Linked DNA regions of Homo sapiens: region 1 is linked to region 2. The links are contacts of gene promoters, found by promoter capture Hi-C in human tissues and cell types (Jung and others, 2019). All regions are on one chromosome and are shown on one strand. The core of a region is centred on a gene start or on the middle of the fragment in contact, and the rest is flanking DNA. Distances in the headings are between cores, read along the strand shown. Region 1 overlaps LHFPL6 (LHFPL tetraspan subfamily member 6). Region 2 holds the start of STOML3 (stomatin like 3).

What was found. The method cuts DNA at HindIII sites, captures the fragments that hold promoters and counts their contacts. A contact is called where the count stands out against the background at its distance.
Region 1: a contact is called between a fragment that was not itself captured here and the fragment with the promoter of STOML3 in region 2, in 1 of the 25 tissues and cell types used here (dorsolateral prefrontal cortex).

Annotation. Positions count from the first base shown.
Region 1 is chr13:39,551,878-39,556,339 of GRCh38, reverse strand. The region is part of intron 2 of LHFPL6 (LHFPL tetraspan subfamily member 6); the gene reads left to right. Among named protein-coding and RNA genes, the nearest start is that of LHFPL6, 49 kb to the left of the region's middle. The HindIII fragment of the contact is 3,177 bases long and covers 1-2,979 here.
Region 2 is chr13:38,988,367-38,993,049 of GRCh38, reverse strand. STOML3 (stomatin like 3) reads left to right here and starts at 2,219. Exons shown (of 7, transcript NM_145286.3): 1 at 2,219-2,380. The coding sequence starts at 2,329. The HindIII fragment of the contact is 2,975 bases long and covers 1-2,975 here.

The sequences.
Region 1 (4,462 bases), core at 142-2,641, 560 kb before region 2:
TTCCAAACTTTCCCTCATCTTCCTGTCTTCTTCTTTGACCTCCAAACTCCTCCAACCTCTGGCCATTACCAAGTTCCAAAGCTGCTTTCACATTTTCAGCACCCCACTCCTTAGTGCCAATTTTCTGTGTTAGTCTGTTCTTGTATGGCTATAAAGAAATACCTGCAGCTGGATCATTAATAAAGACGTTTTATTGACTCACGGTTCTGCTGGCTGTACAGGAAACATGGCGCTGACATCTGCTCAGCTTCTGGTGTGGGCTTCAGGAAGCTCCTAATCTTGGTGGAAGGCAAAGGGGGAGCAGGTGTGTCACATGGCAAGAGTGGGAGTGAGAGAGTGAAGGGGGAGGTCCCAGACTCTTTTAAACAACCAGATCTCATGTGAACTAATTGAGTGAGAACTCACTTACCACCAAGGGGATGGTACTAAGCCATTCATGAGAGACCTGCCCCCATGATCCAGTACTTCCCACTAGGTCCCACCTGCAACATCTTCAACATGAGATTTGGAGGGGACAGATATCCAAACCATATCATGTATGGATGGAATGTCCTTATTAATTGAAATTTCTTGTTGAAGGCCATGAAAATATTTATCAGTTTTGTTAAAAATCTTTCAAAATTATGTTGGCTTCTTTTGCTATCTTTATAAACGTGTTATATGCTATGTATAATTTAATACTTAAATTTTTGTTACTAAATATCTTGCCTTCACTTATGTTTATTATTGTGAACACCAGTTTCAATAAACTGATGCTTAATAAGCTCACTAAAGTTTAGTGCTAAGTTAGCCTCAGCCATTCATTTTACAGATGAGGAAATAGTGACCCAGAGAAATTGAGAGACTTTGCTCAGAGTCACCGTGTTTGTTGTTAGAGGCACAGTGTGTGTGTGATTACAGAACTTTCATCTGAATGCTATAATATGTGCCTAAAAGAAAGCGCTATCGCATGAGTTCTGGTAGCACCTTATTTTCTTTCTTAATTTCACAGCAGAATGCAAAAAAAAAAAAAAAAGGGCGGGGAGAGCTCTGTTTTTCAAAGTTTTACTGTATTCAGAAGCCACCTTTCACTTATTTGATTCTGCCCAATATGTCAGACAGACAAGGATGAGAATACAAAGGGATTGGAGCACCTCTGGGTCCTGATTCTAATTGAATTTAACATAGTCATATTTGTCAGTTTCCGAGTAGGAGTGAAGTAGCTGATGCTGTATTGTAATATTGTTAGAATTTTGAAGGAGCCAAAAGCTTACTTGGCCTTGTTCGTAATCTTTTATTTTTGATAATGGAGCAAGAGTATTTATTTGCACCACATCTGGACTTGACTTCTGGCTAGAAAAGAAAATTTTTTCTGAAGAGTTCCTCCCACTTCTAAGACCCCAGATCCACAACACATTGCATTTAGCCTATCAAGCATTGTACTGTTGTATGAGGGATGCAAAGGTTCATATGCCATGCTGTCAAAAATTTACAACCTTTAGTACTTGACTAAGTAGAGGTTAAACTTTAATGAAAACTTTACTATAACAATGGAGGCATATTCAAGGTGTTCAGGGAAAAGGACAGATCTACCCAAGGGCAGTAGATGGGGATGTGAATGGCTGGGGGGACACACGCCTATTGGAGAAGACAGTCAGAAAGTTGTCAGTAGTTGAATCAGCTTGTTGAAAGTTCAGTGGGTGGGGAGGAGGGGGAAGACAACAACATTTGAAAACACGGAGATGTGAAAAAGTCTGGTCTGTTTGGGCATTGATTCTGGTGTGATGTGACTGTAGAAGTATGCAGGGATGCAGGCGAAACAACTAGAAGGAAAAATTGGGATCAGATAATGAAACATCTTGAATTCCATGCTCAACTGTTCAGAACATTCTGTAGGAAACTGGGGGTTGTTAAAGTGTCTGACTTGCATTTATGGGATGATATGTCCTGACATGCATTTTAATAAAACAATGATTTTGATTTAGTAAGAAAATTATTCCTCTTTAGCGATTAAAGAGTATATTAAAGAGGCAAAAGAATGAGGAAAGGAGACCTTTTAGAAGACAAATGATGAAGACTTTTACTTGTGGTATGGCAGAAAAAATGGAGACTGGTAGATAACTTTGAGATCTACATCTGTATAGAAGCTGCCAGATTAAGTGATTGATTATAGGAAGTACAGGAGAGGGAGAAGTCAAAGTAGATTGCTTAATCCAGAGTCATAGGACAAGTAATGGTGTTATTGGTAGCTGAGAAAACACAAGGAGAGTTAAAAAGAAAGTTATAGAATGAAATCCAAGGAGCAACTTTGAAAGGTAGATGAGCCTTTCATAAGGTATAACAAGCCACCTCAAAATTTCATAGCTTAAAACGACAACCATATATTAATTAAGCTTGTGAGCTGATGGGTTGGTGGGGTGGTTCATCAGGTCTGGGCTGGCTTAGGTTAGTCTGACCTTTTTTTCACTGATTGTCTGCCATCGGCAGGGAAATTGGCAGGTGGCTGGCTGGTTTAGGATGGCCTCAGCTGGAATGATGTTCCACTATCTGTTTCTGTTCATCCAGCAGGCTAGGTAAAGTTTGTTTTCATGACAGTGGGTCAGGATTCCAACGTGCACCTGGCCTTTTTTATTTATTTTATTATTTTTTGAGACAAGGTCTTGCTCTGTCACCCAGGCTGTAGCGCAGTGGCGCAATCATAGTTCACTGCAGCCTCACACTGCTGGGCTCAAGTGCCACCTCAGCTTCCTGAGTAGCTGGGACTACAGGCACAGACCACCATGCTGGCTAATTAAAAAAAATATTTTTTTTTGTAGAGATGAAGTCTCACTATGTTGCTCAGGCTGGTCTTGAACTCCTGAGCTCAAGGGATCCTCATATCTTCGCCTCCCCAAGTATTGTGATAAGAGGTGTGAGCCTGCATGCCTGGCCGTGCCTGAAGTTTTGAAATCCAGTCTCAAGACTGACATAGTGTCACTTCCACTGCATTTTCTCTGGCCAAAGGAAGTTTCAAAGCCTGTCCAAATTCATGGGGTGAAGCTGCAAATTTACATTCCAGGGAGTTGGGTATAGGAAAGGTTGAAGAATGGGGTTTTTGCTGTAATTAGTCTACCACAGTGATTCATAATTATTAGATGATTATCAAAATAATTTCTAAATTGTATTCCATTAATTGTATTTCTGTGCTTTCCCATGAAGACTAAAATGAATGATTTTCTAATATTAGCTTAAATGTATTGACATATTTCAATTTTCTCATTTTGTGGGATATTATTCTGGTTGCTCTTTGCAGGGTTCCTGATGCTTTACATTTTTAAGTTTAACTTCATTTAAAAGCATTAATAAAGTTTTTTTCTCTTTTATTCAGAATTACCTCCAGAATAAGTGTACAACAAATCCTGCAAGTAAGGTATCCCAAAGCATCATCCTCATTCTTGGTCACCACCTCCAGAATAAGTATACAACAAATCCTGCAAGTAAGGTATCCCAAAGCATCATCCTCATTCTTGGTCACCACCTCCAAAAAGGCACCCATTAAATTAAAAAAACTGGCTAAATATGTAACTGTGCCTTCATTGTCTTTGGGTGGAGACCTTCACTTCAGAAGCTTCATGGGCTGTTTTTTCACTGTTGCTGGTGCATTGCAAGATGTTGCCCTTGGCAAGGTGTGCTTGGTCCCTACAGTTCTTCTCTATCATTCTTATTAATGATGTTTTGCTAGTCCCATGCAGAGCCTTTGAATATCATTCCAAGAAAGGACCACCCACAGTGAAAATATTACGCCTATCCAGTGGTCTTGAATGTGTCCCTTATGAAGTGGAATCTTTATGTAAAATAGACACTTGGGAAGCAATTATTATTAATTACGGACCCTTTCATCACAGCCTTTGATCCCTTGCATGCACCAGTACTCACTCCTGCTGTTCATGACAGTGACAGTGTGTCACTGTCACTGTCCAACAATGGTTTATGTGCCATTAAGAACAAAGAGACTTTTTGAAAAATAGTCAGTTTACCAATTGCTGTCACAATCATAGTCTTTGAATATGGTTGTGTGTGTTCTTCTCAGTTAATAGATTCTCCTTATATTAATGCTGACCCCTGCCTCTGTTACAGGCTTCAAGGGTATGTGTTTAAACTGACCTGTTGATACTGGGGTTAGATTATCCATGTATGCAATTTATTTTGAACCTTGTGAATGAGATAATCACATACAATTTCTGATCCATGAAGGGAATGCTATCTGGCACAGAGGGTGCTGATTTGTTAGATTTTATGTTCTCATGATTATTTTCTGATGTTTGAAATAATTACCATTGTTTAATAAAAAAGAATAGGCCAGCAGTATATAGCTAATTCACTCATAATTAAGGAAGTTAGCCAAGATATTCTGAGTCATTATTCAGTCGAAACTTTTAGATACAGAGGGCTATTAATATGTTAGTAACTGAAAACCTAAAAATATAAAAATATTACTTTTGTC
Region 2 (4,683 bases), core at 970-3,469:
GAGCCTTCTCTCCTGCCCACTGTGCCTCCAGCAACATTTCTACTTGGAGCTGTAAGCGAGGATGTTTAAGGGAGGTGCAGAGAAAACTATCCTAGAGCAGACAGTTGCTGACTCTGCACACATTATGCATGTCTGTTTTAATCTGTGTTCTTGTCTCCTTTCCTAAATTTCTAAAACTCTGTATTAATTATTGTAATTACAAACTGTGGATGACAGCCATAGTAGTTATTTCCACAATTTGAGTTTGTGGAAAAGGCAATCAAGATTATCAAGTAGTTGGTATAAATAACCCATAACCTGGAAAATTTTTTACTTTTGTTTTTTTCTTTTTTGAGTTGGGGTCTCGCTGTGTCACCCAGGCTGGAGTGCAGTGGAGCCATCTTGACTCACTGTAACCTCTGCTTCCCAAGCTCAATCAATCTTCCCACTTCAACCTCCAGTGTAGCTAGGACTATAGGTGCATGCCACCATGCCTGGTTAATTTTTGTATTTTTAGTAGAGATGGGGTTTTACCATGTTGCCCAGGCTGGAATCTGAGAAAAGTTTTAAGATGAAGTTGCAAAGAAGGAAATAACTAGGTGGTTGGCAGAAGAAAAACCAGAAAAGACAAGAAGGCCAGGGAGAGATTAGAGATTTTTTCTACTGTTTTCACAAAATAATACAATATAATATAATAAATGCCATACAATAAATATAATGGTATACAAAAGAAAAACAAGATATATTTGGGATATTGATATGAGAGAAATGAACATCAGAAAATTAGAAAATTGGTGTTCTTAGTATTGGAATAACCACAAAATTGTCTGTGGTTCTATGTGGTCTGATGAAAGAAGGAATCCTAGTACAGGATCCTAAGGATCTGGATTTGAGAAAGAGCTTTGCCATTTGAGAGCTGTTTTCATTTGTGATTTATATATTCATTCATTCAGCAAGTATTGTTGAACATCAATCATGTGCCCACGTTGTTCTAATTGTTGCAGATGCAATGGAAATGTTAGACCAAGTCACTCTCCTCATGGAAATGTATAGTGCAAGGCAGGGGTCAGCAAACTTTTTTTGTGAAGGGACAAACAGTAAATATTTTAGGCCTTACAGCTTGTATGGTCTGTGTCACAACTACTCAAATCCACGGGTGCAGTGCAAAAGTGAGCACAGACAATACAAAAATGAAAGAGCTGGGCATGGTGGCTCATATCTACAATCCCAGCAGTTTGGGAGACCAAGGCTGAAGGATCATTTGAGCCCAGAGTTTGAGACCAGCCTGGGCAATATAGTGAGGCCCCATCTCTAAAAAAAAAAAAAATTAAAAATTAGCCAGGTATGGTGGTGTGCACCTGGAGTCCCAGCTGTTGAAGAGGCTGAGGTAGGAAGATTGCTTGAGCCTGGCAGGTCGAGATTGCAGTGAGCTGTGATTGTGCCACTGCACTCCAGCCTGGGCAACAGAGTGAAATCCTATCTCAAAAAAAAAAAAAAAAAAAAGAAAGCAACAAAAGGACATACTGTGTTCCAATAACACTTTATGTTTTAAAAACAAGTGGTAAATTAAATTTAGCTGGCAAGCTAAAGTTTGTCAATTCTTGGTCTAGAAGAAGAAACAGACACAAGCCAAAAAATTATGCATATGATAACACGTGCAAAGATCCGGTGGCGAGAAGACATATCAAGCTTTGGAGGCACTGATAGGAGACCAATGGAGCTGCTTCACGGAGAGACACATGAGTGAGGCTGGAAAGGGAGGAAGGGGCAGGCCAGCAGGGTCTTGTAGGACACTTAGGAGTTTGGTCTTTACAATATTGACAGTTGGCAATTTTTTGATTATTTTAAGCAGGATGAAGACATGATCAGATTTGAGTTTCAAAAGCTCACTCACTGCAGTGTTAGAATGAGTTGGGTTAAATTTTCTCATCTGAAACATAAGGATGGATACACTTGCCCTGTGTATTGAACAGGTCATTGTGTAATCAGTGATCACACAAGATTTATACAAGGTGCATAGAAGTGTTTTATGAAATATAAATGCTATAGAAAATTACACAGCAATATTTTACAGGAAGCAATACCACCAGATGGTCATATTCTTTCAAGTTTTTTCTGTGAACAAAGGCAGTCTGAACTCATAAAAGAAATCTTTTTGTTTATGTTATCAGGCTTCCCTCACCAGGGTAACTACCCCTTAGGGAGTTCACTAAAGAGAAGGAATGTCTTTCACTCTCTCATACTTTCTCCTCTCCCCTCTCCCAAGCACATCTGAGTTGCTGCCTGTTCTTCACACTTAGCTCCAAACCCATGAAAAATTGCCAAGTATAAAAGCTTCTCAAGAATGAGATGGATTCTAGGGTGTCTTCACCTGAGAAGCAAGATAAAGAGAATTTCGTGGGTAAGTTCCTTTTTCCTGTCTTAGGCTTGTTTTTTACATATATGGCAAAGCAGGAGTTGTAGCATTATAGACAGGTATAGAGTAAGTATGAGATATATTTGCAGAAATCGGCCTCAATTTCATTTATAGCCCAGGATTTTGAATTCATTGCTTATGCTGATTTCATTTGCTTCTTGAACGGCAGTCTATAACTTGCTTTATTTTTCCTTCAATTTTAGATAAAGTTGGTGTTTATCTTTGAATTTCTTCTTTCTGTATGAAATCCTTCTCAGGATTTTGAATTCATTGCTTATGCTGATTTCATTTGCTTCTTGAACAGCAGTCTATAACTTGCTTTATTTTTCATTCAATTTTAGATAGAATTGGTGTTTATCTTTGTATTTCTTCTTTTTGTATTAAATAACAAAGATATGTTGAAGAGGCTGACTTTTCTCCAACTTCAAACATTTTCTGATGATGCTGAGATTAAAAAGAAAAGTTGGTTTGAGCTGTATCCTGTTTGATAAATGGAGAGAAGTTGAGAAAAAAAACTTAGCTTATAAGTACCAACTACTATCATTAATACTAATGACTATTATGTGTTACAAAGCATTTTGCTTGCATTATCTCTTTCAATTTTACAATAATTCTGAGGTAGATCCTCTTAGAATCTCATTTTACAAATGAGAAAACTGAGCATTGGAAAGTTTAAAAAGTTGTTCAGAAAGTGATTATGATGATGGTGTGCGTGTGTGTGTGTGTGATGATGGTGTGAGTGTGCGTGTGTGTATGACCTAACCTGTGCTCTGTACCTTATGTTGCCAAAAAAGCCATAGTACATGTTAGAAATAGAGAACACGTTTGGCATTACTAATACATAAAAGAAAAAACTAGGCTGCATGCACTGGTGCATGCCCTGTAATCGCAGCACTTTGGAAGGCCAAGGCAGGCAGATCACTTGAGCTCAGGAGTTCGAGACCAGCCTGGGCAAAATGGCAAAAACTCATCTCTACAAAAAATACAAAATTTAGCCAGGTGTGGTGGCACATGCCTGTGGCTAAGTGGGAGGTTGAGGTGGGAGGATTGCTTGAGCCCAGGAGGTTTAGGCTTCAGTGAGCTGAGATTGCACCACTGTACTCCAGCCTGGGTGACAGAGTGAGACCCTGCCTAACAAAGAAAAAAAAATGGAATAAAGAAAGAAAAAAGAAAAAGTATACATTTAGAGACATTTACCTGAATTGGAAAAGAAACTTTTCTTTTGAAGTAGGCATGAAAAGCTTGAAGGCAGTAAATATCATCTGGAAATGCAAGCGGGAGATCTCAAGAGTCCCCTTATTTATCCTTCATGAGACATTTAGTTTCCATTTTAACAGGTGAAGACATCAACTGGGTAGATGGCATGACTGAAGCTGTATCATCAGTGAGATTCTTGAAAGTACTCATGAGTTTTCTTGGTTTCGATATTTGAATATGAAAAACTGGCACTATCACAGAATGAACAAAATGGGGCTGATATATTTGCAATGTCTGATTTCCTGTGCTTTTGTAGTTTTTTAGGAGAGATACAGTGTGGACCATTCTCTGAGATCTGTGGACTAAGTTTGCCCTTGCAACTCAGATATATATAAAAAATATATATAATACAATATAACATATATAACATATATCTTATATAATATAGTATATAATGTATGATATATATTATGTAATATAGTATATATAATATATTGTGTAATATAGTATATATAATATATTGTATAATATAGTATATATATTATGTATTCTATAGTATAGTATATAATATGTAATAATATATATTATATAATACAGCATATATAATATATATTATGTATTATAGTATATATAATTATATATACTATATACTATAATATATAACTTGTAATATGTACTTATGAATACTTGATATACCTGACAGCACATAAGTGGCAAATATGTTTTTCCAGTTGTCACTTATTTTTTCACCTTTTTAATGATGTGTTTGATATCAAATATATAAAATTTCAATATATAATATATATAAAATATATGATATAAAATATAATATATTATATATAAAATATATGATATATAATATATTATATATAAAATATATGATATAAAATATATTATATATAAAATATATGATATAAAATATATTATATATAAAATATATGATATAAAATATATTATATATAAAATATATGATATAAAATATATTATATATAAAATATATGATATAAAATATAATATATTTTATATAAAATATATGATATAAAATATCATATATTTTATATAAAATATATGATATAAAATATAATATATTA